Regions from separate parts of the Homo sapiens genome. Here region 2 is linked to region 1. The links are contacts of gene promoters, found by promoter capture Hi-C in blood cells and fetal thymus (Javierre and others, 2016). All regions are on one chromosome and are shown on one strand. The core of a region is centred on a gene start or on the middle of the fragment in contact, and the rest is flanking DNA. Distances in the headings are between cores, read along the strand shown. Region 1 holds the start of TEX26-AS1 (TEX26 antisense RNA 1). Region 2 holds the start of TEX26-AS2 (TEX26 antisense RNA 2).

Region 1 (4,316 bases), core at 674-3,173:
ATTTCAGGCTCTCGACCTTCAGAGCTGTGAGCAAATACATTTTTGTTGTTTGAATCCACCAGTCTGTGGGAACACATAGCAGCCACAGGAAACTAATACAACACCTGAGAGCCCCATCTGTAGTAATTATTCAATAACAGTTAGTCATCAGTCACCATCAACCTCATCCTATTTCGGACCAAACCTGGGCAGTGGGGACACATCAAGCCTACCATTTGGAGGGTGACTCTCCCAGCAGTGGGGAATGAAGTGGCACAGAGTAGCCATTAGAGGCCCAAGCCTGGAGGTAAAGGGGCGAATTCACCTGGGGGAAAAAGAGCTTTGGAGGCAGAATCAAAGAGACCTGGTGATCAAACTGCAGTCTCAAGGAAGCTGCCTTCCCTTCTAAATTGAGCAGCTAGGACCCTCTTAACTGAACTCTCAAAGTCTGGAAGGTTTGAGGAGGACAAGGAGTGTGATTTTGCACATGTCAAGTTGGAGGCCCTGCTGTGACACCCACATGGAACTGTCTGGTAGACAGTTAGATATTCTGGTCTGAAAAAGTAGGAAGAAAGTCCAAGTCAGAGATAAAGGTTAGAGAGTTGTTGGCACCTTTATGCAGCACTTGAAGCCCTGTGCAGGATATGGTCACAAAGAGAAGGTAAGCCTAGAAGGATCAATCCTGGGGGACTCCAACAGTTCCCAGACAAGAAGGGGATGAAATGGGGAGACAGTGGGAAAACAGGGTGGTTAGAAAGGGAAGAGAAGCATCCAAAGGGGTGCTGTCGGGATGCTAGGAGGGGATCCTCCCTCCTCTGTCTCTCCTGTTTGCCTTCCCATCATATAGAAACTGAGTGTATTAGATATTTTCTGCACTAATTAAGTATTTTCATTTTCCATTCTTAATTTACAACGGAATGAATTGGAATGAAAATATGCATTTCATTCACTCTTTTGGGAGCACAATTCTAGGGAATTTGTACTTGAACAATCCTTCACTGCTCCATAGCCACTGTGGAATCACAGTTACCCAACTATACAGCAGCAATGGCCAATTATTGCCACAAGAGACTATGATGGAGCTGACTACACGGTAATCATGCCACTAGCGTCACAGCTAGAGTGGTTCTCCCTCCACAGACCCAAAAGGCTGAACTGGTGAACCTGCTGCATCTGTGGGCAGAATTAGGATGAAAAGCACTACCTCTGTGAAATACAAAATCTCTGTGGAAGAAAAATCAATTCAGGTTAGAGGCGGCAGCTGAAGGCCATGGCTCCCAGCCTGGTGCGACAGCCCAGGGAGGGCGTCTGCCTCTGCAGACACAGCTGGGACTCCATTCAGCAGCCAACCCTTCCCCCACTTTCCTTGCTGTTTCCAAGATCCTATATGGGGATCGGGACTCAGGCAGGACCTGTTCTCTTCAGAGCTTCCAGGACTTCTCTTTCTTCTTTGCCTTTGGCCCTGTTTTCCTTGGAAAATCACCAGTTCTTCCTTTTTTCCTGTCCCCTCTTAGCCAGGCACTTCCTCGAGTGTTTAAAAACCCTGCGCGTTTTAGGGAGCGGGGATTTGGCAAAGGTTATGCGAAGGACTGAAAAGGGGCAGCGTCATGAAGGCCCTGTCATTCTCCCTGACTCCCCGTCTTTTCCTCAGTTGAGCATACTCCTAAGAGCGATGCCACACCCTTAAATACTAAGGCCCCTTTTTCTCAACAGGACCCTTTCCCCGGGAAAGACCCCAGCCCCGCCCCGCAGACCGGCAGAGTCTGCTGTCTTACTTGGCTGGAGGTTGTGGTGGCAGAGAGAGGGATCCGGAGCCCTGGGCCCAGGCTGTTCCATTCTGCCCCAGGAGGCGGCCGCGGGGCCCTGGCTCCAGCTATCTCAGCGCTTGCGGGAGCCGCGGGCTGCTTTGTGACGCGTCGCCATGGAGACAAGGATCGGGTTCCAGGGAGTTCTGCCCCTGCCAAGGGGTGCTGGCCACGCAGGAGGCTTAACCTGGCCGGCGCGGGAATGGGGTGCAGAGAGCAAAGAAATGTGGCTTTGATCTTATGGATGCCTTACTTTTACATTATTTGTACAGTTCTTGCAGTGAGCTTTCCGGACCACTGTCTTGTATGTTTCCTAAGAAAAGCAAAAAGGGAAGAGATTGAAGAGAAAGTAGATTTTCAACTACAAACTTTCATCCATTTGCTTTCAGCTTAAGCAAATGTGCGCAAAGTTGTCATGGATTTTTGCAGTCAATAAAAACCAAGCAAGAAGACTGAATCCCAAGTCATCTGGTATAAATGGAAGCAGTTTCTGTGATAGTTCCACGCGGTCAGAAGGGTCATCCTGGCTTAGGAGAGGGGCAGAAGAGGAAATGCACGCGTGGAAACAGGAGTGGGCAGGGAGGATGTGACACTGTCCTCCTCACCAGGCCACGTTCCTGGCACCAACCATAGTGTTTGTGAGGGTCAATTTAATTGTTCTTGTGCTCTCATAGAGGAAGCTGTGTCTTTCATCCCCTTGTAAGAGTTTTCACTGATGAAGGGGGTCTTTTATCTTCATATCTTGGGAACTACTGAAACTGTTTCAAAGAGTCAAAGACACCAATAACTAACAGAAATTCTTGTTTTCAGGGGCAGATAAGAAAAGAAACAATTTGCTGAAACTCCCTCTGCTTATAACAAAACTGACTGAAATCAGCCGGAATCAATATGGCCAAATGCAGTTTGCGCACAGCAAGCTTGCTGATGTCACAGCCTGAATTTCTACTGCATGTTTCATACCAACTCCCTCCAAATTTGCACATGGGACCCACCAGGAAGCATGAAGAGAGAGCCATGCATGCCTGAAGACTTCCCAGATGTTCCCTTTGCTTCCACCAATCACCTGCTAACCCCAGGATCCAACCCTAAACCTTTTGTAATAAAATTACTGCCCTAAAGCCAGTACAAGACAGATTTGAACTGGACTTTTGTTTCCTCAGAAGTTAACTTGCAATGTGAAGCTTTCCTTTTCTCAAAAACTTGGTGTCATAGTGTTGGCTTCTAGTGCAGTGAGCCCCTTTTGCTGGATAACCTTACCTGGTAATTTGACATACTAGGTGGTTAGTAACTACTGACTGTCTCCAGGTTACAACACAGTTATTACCCACTTGGGTGAAAAGAGAAGACAGGAAATACATTTTGGAGTTGGCTGGCAACCTGTTTACAAAGCAATTTACAACAGTTCCTTATTCTTAAGGGGCTATTCTAATACAAGACCTCAGAGAAACAGTGCAGTGTGACAAAGGAGGAATTTATCAAAGGAGACAGAAAAAGCATCAAGGTAAGGATCCCAAATATATGTGCAAGGAATGTCTTTAAAATGAAGAGCTAAACTAGAATTTCCTGAAGGTAGAGTTCTATCCATATAATGGAATGAATATAACACATTATAAACTCTCATGTTTTGAAGCAATGGAGGGTGGAACACATTAGAAGGCATAGATGTTATTAAAAGGAATGAGTCTAAATTAGGATTTAGTAGTGGCATCTAAATTTAAAAAGTAGCACCCAATAACAGATTACTGTCTGGAAATGGTAGAGCTAATTAGCATAGCATAATTTAAGAGAAATATATGTTTAAAATAGAGCAGCAAGTATATAGAATTTTGAAAGTGAATTCTTATTAATATCTTACAATTTGTCTCATTTTAGGCAAGCTGTGAAATGGTGCGGTAGGAACCAAATAGAGAGCCAAAGGATCTTTCTGTCACTGCAGGCCCTTAGGGGTAAGCAAATCCTTCCCTGATCCCTGGTCTCCTTATCTGTAAATGAGAATACCAGCACCCACCTCACTGTGCTGTAAACATGATGAGTTCTAACAATAATTTATAAATTGTAAAATCACACAAATCTAAGATATTGCTCTTGTTGCTATTCTGATCTTCATTCCTTTTATAGTCTTTCTACTTCAAAGTGTATTTTTGCGTGGGTCCATTTTATGGCTAGCGGTATAGCACTATTCCTGCCTTTGAATTCTGGTTGCCTGAGGCAACCCTTCTAAATGATTAAGTAGAGTATTTCCCCCCTGCTTTCTTCTCTCCCTCAACAAATACTGACTGTGCACTGAATATGAGCTGTATGATGGCATCGGGGCAACACCCTGATTATTATAGTGAACAACTTCCTAGAAAAGGAGGTGCCTGAGCTGGGTCCTCAAGGATGCTTGGAGTCAACCAGGTGAATAGGGGGAGGTGACAGGTGACACAAAGTAACGCAAGGGCCCAGAGGCATGGAACACTGTGTGTAGTCCCAAGACCTTTAGTAGTTTAATATTGCCATATTGTAAAGTGTGTCAGGGGAAACTGAGAGCCG
Region 2 (4,568 bases), core at 1,415-3,914, 45 kb before region 1:
CCCTTTACTTAAGCCCCATCATCTGAAACAAATGGGGTGGATTCTGCTTCCTGCTTAGACCTTGACTAAACTACCAACTTAACCTTCTCAGGTGCAATTTACCAATTAGATCCCCCCTCTAGTTTAGTGGTTCTCACTCTTTGCTGTGCACAGGGATCACCTTAGCACCTGTGATCCGTCCCCAGAAGTTCTGATGTAATTGGACTGGAAAGTAGCCTCGGGATCAGGATTTTAAAAATCTCTCCAGGACATTTGATTGGGTAGCCAAGGCTGATAAGCCCTGCTCCAGACTCATATACCTCCTGTACAGAAAGGAGAATTCTAACACGTAGTGAAAACAACTTCCTATAACCTGCGTTTTATTTCTTACTTTCTTACAAATTATTGCAGCCTTCATTCTAAAGGGATGTTGTTTTCTACTTATTCACAAAAGCTTTTTAAAACAAAGTGGAACAATTTTAAACACATTTACATAACTGTTTCTTCAAGAGGTTCAAAACAAAGAACAGATATTTCTAGAAAGCATAGAAATCCACTATATACACTTTTATTTTGAATAAGGTGTGTGCAAGGGTGATGGCAGTGGCTGCTGCCATCATGCCAGCTGCAGCAGGGAAGCGCAGCTGGGGCTGTACACTCCCTGGAGCCAGGGGGAACCCTGCCCATTCTGAGTTGGGACAGGACCTCCCCATGTGGCTACAGCCACCCAAACCACAGCTGCAGACCCAGGCCTCCTGCTCTAGGGAGCAGGAAGGAGCGCCCCCTACTGGGTGAGGCTACAGCAGCCCAAAATGCAGCTGTGGATCGGAGCCTTCCTGTGCTCTTGGGAGAAACGGGAACAGGCAGGATCTGCCTTCCGAGGTGCAGTTGCAGCTGCCTCATTCGCGGCTGCAGACCTGGGCCTCCTGCTCCAGGAAGCAGGCAGAAGCTGGGGACAAGTGGGAGTCCTGCCTCTTCTGAGTTGGTGGGGCGGGAGCTCCTGGGTGCAGCTGCACTGCCCTCCCAGGCACAGGACCTGGGCATCTCTGTAGCCTACACCCTCGAGTGCCCCAGGAAGGACCCCTGTCCCTGCAGGCTTAGGGGTGTCTGCTCCCAGTGCCTGGCCTCTCCTCCCAAGGCCCGCTCCAATCTCCCAGCGGGGTTGGGGGCCAAGTCCCAGCGGGAGGCTGACAGAATCCTGGGTAGAAGGAAGAGGGTCCCCAGTAAGGGCCCACCCTCAGGCCAGGGAGAGCCTGAAGACTAGGGGCTGGGCTGCCAGTCCCGTGAACTGGAGTAGGGACTCATGGGCCTGGAAGAGTCCAGGCCCACCCATGGCCGCCCATGGACCAACTGGCATACATTTCCTTCCTTCTGAGGTCCATAAAAGCCCTGGGCTCAACCAGAGCAGGGCAGAAGATGGCCAGAAGACAAAGAGAGCAGAGAGATGATGGGACTGGATGACCAGCTGCAGAGAAGAGTACCCTGTCCACTGAGAGCCTCAGAGATGACCTGCCAGCAGAAGGGAGCTACCCACTCCTCTGAGTTGCTCTAACACTAAATAAAACTCTTCTTCACTCTTCACTTGTGTACCTCACTCTTCCTGGATGCAGGACAAGAATTTGGGCAAAGGTGCTGTGGCCACAGGGGTTCCCGGCAAGAAAAAAATCAACACCCCAGAAATCGCCTACCAAGGGTAAGTTTTTCAGGAAAGAAAAAAGAGAATTAAAGAGCCATCGGGGGATATCACAAGAAAAAAAAAATGGCAGGATTAGTAACTGTTGAAAAACTACTATCTTACAAATATAATAATAGAGATTCTAGTGCCATGTAATTAACTCATGCCAGGTCCATGACTGATCTGGGTTTGCCGATCTTCTCTGAGAATGAACCAGGTTAAAGCACTCACAGCTTCTAGCACATTAAAATAAGCAGTGGCTACTGGCCTCATGAGAATCTTTAAAGTGTTCAATGTTTAAAACACCCTTGCCATTTTTAAGATACAAGAGAACCTCAACCACACTCTTACTTTAAAATGCAATTGCTTTTTTTTTTTTTTTTTTTTTTTTTTTGAGACGGAGTCTCGCTCTGTCGCCCAGGCCGGACTGCGGACTGCAGTGGCGCAATCTCGGCTCACTGCAAGCTCCGCTTCCCGGGTGCAATTGCTTTTTAAACACACATTTGTTGACGGTGGTAGAATTTAATATTTTTGAGAAAGAACTGATTCTACAAAGCTTTTTCTCATTTTGAGGGTCCCAGGAATGTTGCATCTAAATAAATGCTGTGCCTGTACCAGTCAGCTATTGCTACATTGGCCTCTGGCATGCAGCAAAGAGCATTTATTTCTCATTCACAGTTTGTGAGTCATTGGGGCAGGTCAGCTGGGGTGACTCATTTTTCTCCTGGGACCAGTGAGCAGCCCAGGTTTATTTCTTCTAACAACCCATTAGCCAAAGAAAGCCACATGGCTGTGCTCACATACAAGGTCAGGGGAAATACATTCCATCTTTAGTGGGAGGCACTGCAAGGTTACATGGCCAGGGGTGTGGATACAGAGAGAGATGAAGAATTGGGGCCAATAATTCACTTTACCACCGTCCCTAAAGCAAAAGTCTGTCGAAGATGACATCTCAATACTGTATTTACAAGTAGAACATCTTGCTCTAGAGTGATGTCACTGACAAGTTCTAGAACCCTGTAGGTAAGAGGACTTTTTGTGTCCAGACAGATGGCAATACTCATCCGTATGTTGTCTGCCCCAGGGCAAGGTAGGTGATGCTGGCTTTTCTTAGCTACCCTACCTCCAGAATACCAAAATGATCTCCAAAGAAGTAATCAGGGTTTGAGGGGAGGAGGAGAGCATTGAACAGGTGGTGCATAGAGAATTTTTGGGGCAGTGAAACTATCCTGTGTGATACTGTAATTGTGGATACATGGCACTATGCTTTTGTCATAACCCATAGAACTTTATAGCACAAAGAGTGAACCTCAATGTATGTGAATTTTTAAAAAATCATTTGGGAGGTCAGGGATACCATTTGGGATGCCCAAGGTGTAGAGATACATTAAAAACTTAAGATGCATGCACAGACACGTCTGCAGTCGTGAAAAACTCAAGTCCTACACAAAACTTTGCTACCAAAATTTGAAGAAGAAGAAGACGAATAGTATAAAAACAACATTCATGGGTGATCCACAACTTGAATCAATAGAAATTTATTGACTGTTGTGAAATAAAGTTACATAGAATACAAGAGTCTATGCTAACAGAAATACAATGGCACTCACACCATGATCCGACTCTTGCTTCCTTGATCTCTTTTTGCGTGACTTTTCCCTGTCCCCGGCCAACTCACTATGTATGTGTCAACCACTCCACCTTCTTCCAGTTCCTAGAACACCAAAATCATTCCTATCTTGAGGCCCTTGCCTTGCTGTTCTCTAAGCCTGGAAAGGTCTTGTCCCATCTCTCCATGTGGCTGGCTCCTTCTCCTCTTGAAGTTTCATTTCAAATAGGAGCCTCTTGGTGCCTCCCTCTAGAATCGAAGCTCCATTACTGTCTTTCACTAGTGCATTATCCCCATCCCCTAAAGCCCTGCTTGGCACGTAGGAGGTGCTCAATAAATATTTGTGGACCAAAGGGGCTACTCATTTATTAATATTTGGCTCAAGGCCCTGATGGAGTATGGACCTCTGCTTTGGAATGGATGCTGTGAGGACAGTCAGGAAGTCCCACACTGCACACACTAAACCAAGAGAGAGTCCACGTAAAGCTCCTGGGTGGCCACTGCAACAGTCTTAAGCACTCTAAGAAAGGCATAAAAGCAGATTAATGCTCAAGTATTGACCCACATCTGCAAAGGACGTTGGGGCAGGGAGACGCTTAGCTGATAAATAGAAAACTACCCCTGTCTAAAGCAGGGATGGTTGGGATATGACTGCCTTGATGCAAAACAGGAGCAGGAAATAGGACAGGCCCAAACAAGGGCTCAAAAAAGAAAGAAAGAAAGAAAGAAAGCCAAAGCGGCAATAACAACAACAAACTCTTGCTGCTGGTGGGAAACCTACAGGGCAAGCTCCTTCTCCACATGAGCCCTGCTGGCAGTTGTTTGTATGTGTGTGTGTGTGTGTGTGCATGCACACGCGTAAGAGCACATGCAGGGGATGTAGTGAAAAGCACAGTGTGAAATGAGGAAATAAAGGATATCTTCTCAGTCAGTAGCCATGGGAAGAACCGGGAAGTACAAGGTCCTGAGAGCACAGAGATGATGGAATTTTTATATATTGGGAGAGGAACCCAAATCTAGTAATGACAATGTGTGATAAAAACTACTAGTATGATGAAAAACAGTATATTTCCAAAACTAACATTAGAGGGGAAAATGAAGAAAATCAGTAAAACTAAAAAGAACAAACAGCAAATAGCAAGCAAAAAAAATGATATAGAAAACAAAACCCAGTATGTGAAGCATCACAGTTGCTCTGTACTAAGTTTTTGAAGACAAAGACTGACACATTAGTTATGAAATAAAAGATAGGCATAATTTATTTCTAGAAGCAAAGTTACAAAGACAGATTGGAAATGAAAGCAA

Evidence for each region. Contacts are between HindIII fragments. The CHiCAGO score rates a contact against its expected background, and 5 or more counts as called.
Region 2: a contact is called between the fragment with the promoter of TEX26-AS2 here and the fragment with the promoter of TEX26-AS1 in region 1, in 17 of 17 cell types (total CD4 T cells, activated CD4 T cells, neutrophils and 14 more). The highest score is 35.3, in total CD4 T cells.

The regions. Positions count from the first base shown.
Region 1 is chr13:30,930,215-30,934,530 of GRCh38, reverse strand. It overlaps TEX26-AS1 (TEX26 antisense RNA 1), which reads left to right and starts at 1,923. Exons shown (of 4, transcript NR_038287.1): 1 at 1,923-3,285; 2 at 3,657-3,730. TEX26 (testis expressed 26) reads right to left here and starts at 1,875. Exons shown (of 7, transcript NM_152325.3): 1 at 1,755-1,875. The coding sequence starts at 1,815. The HindIII fragment of the contact is 4,425 bases long and covers 1-2,703 here.
Region 2 is chr13:30,975,736-30,980,303 of GRCh38, reverse strand. It overlaps TEX26-AS2 (TEX26 antisense RNA 2), which reads left to right and starts at 2,664. Exons shown (of 3, transcript XR_941820.3): 1 at 2,664-2,744. The HindIII fragment of the contact is 6,328 bases long and covers 2,213-4,568 here.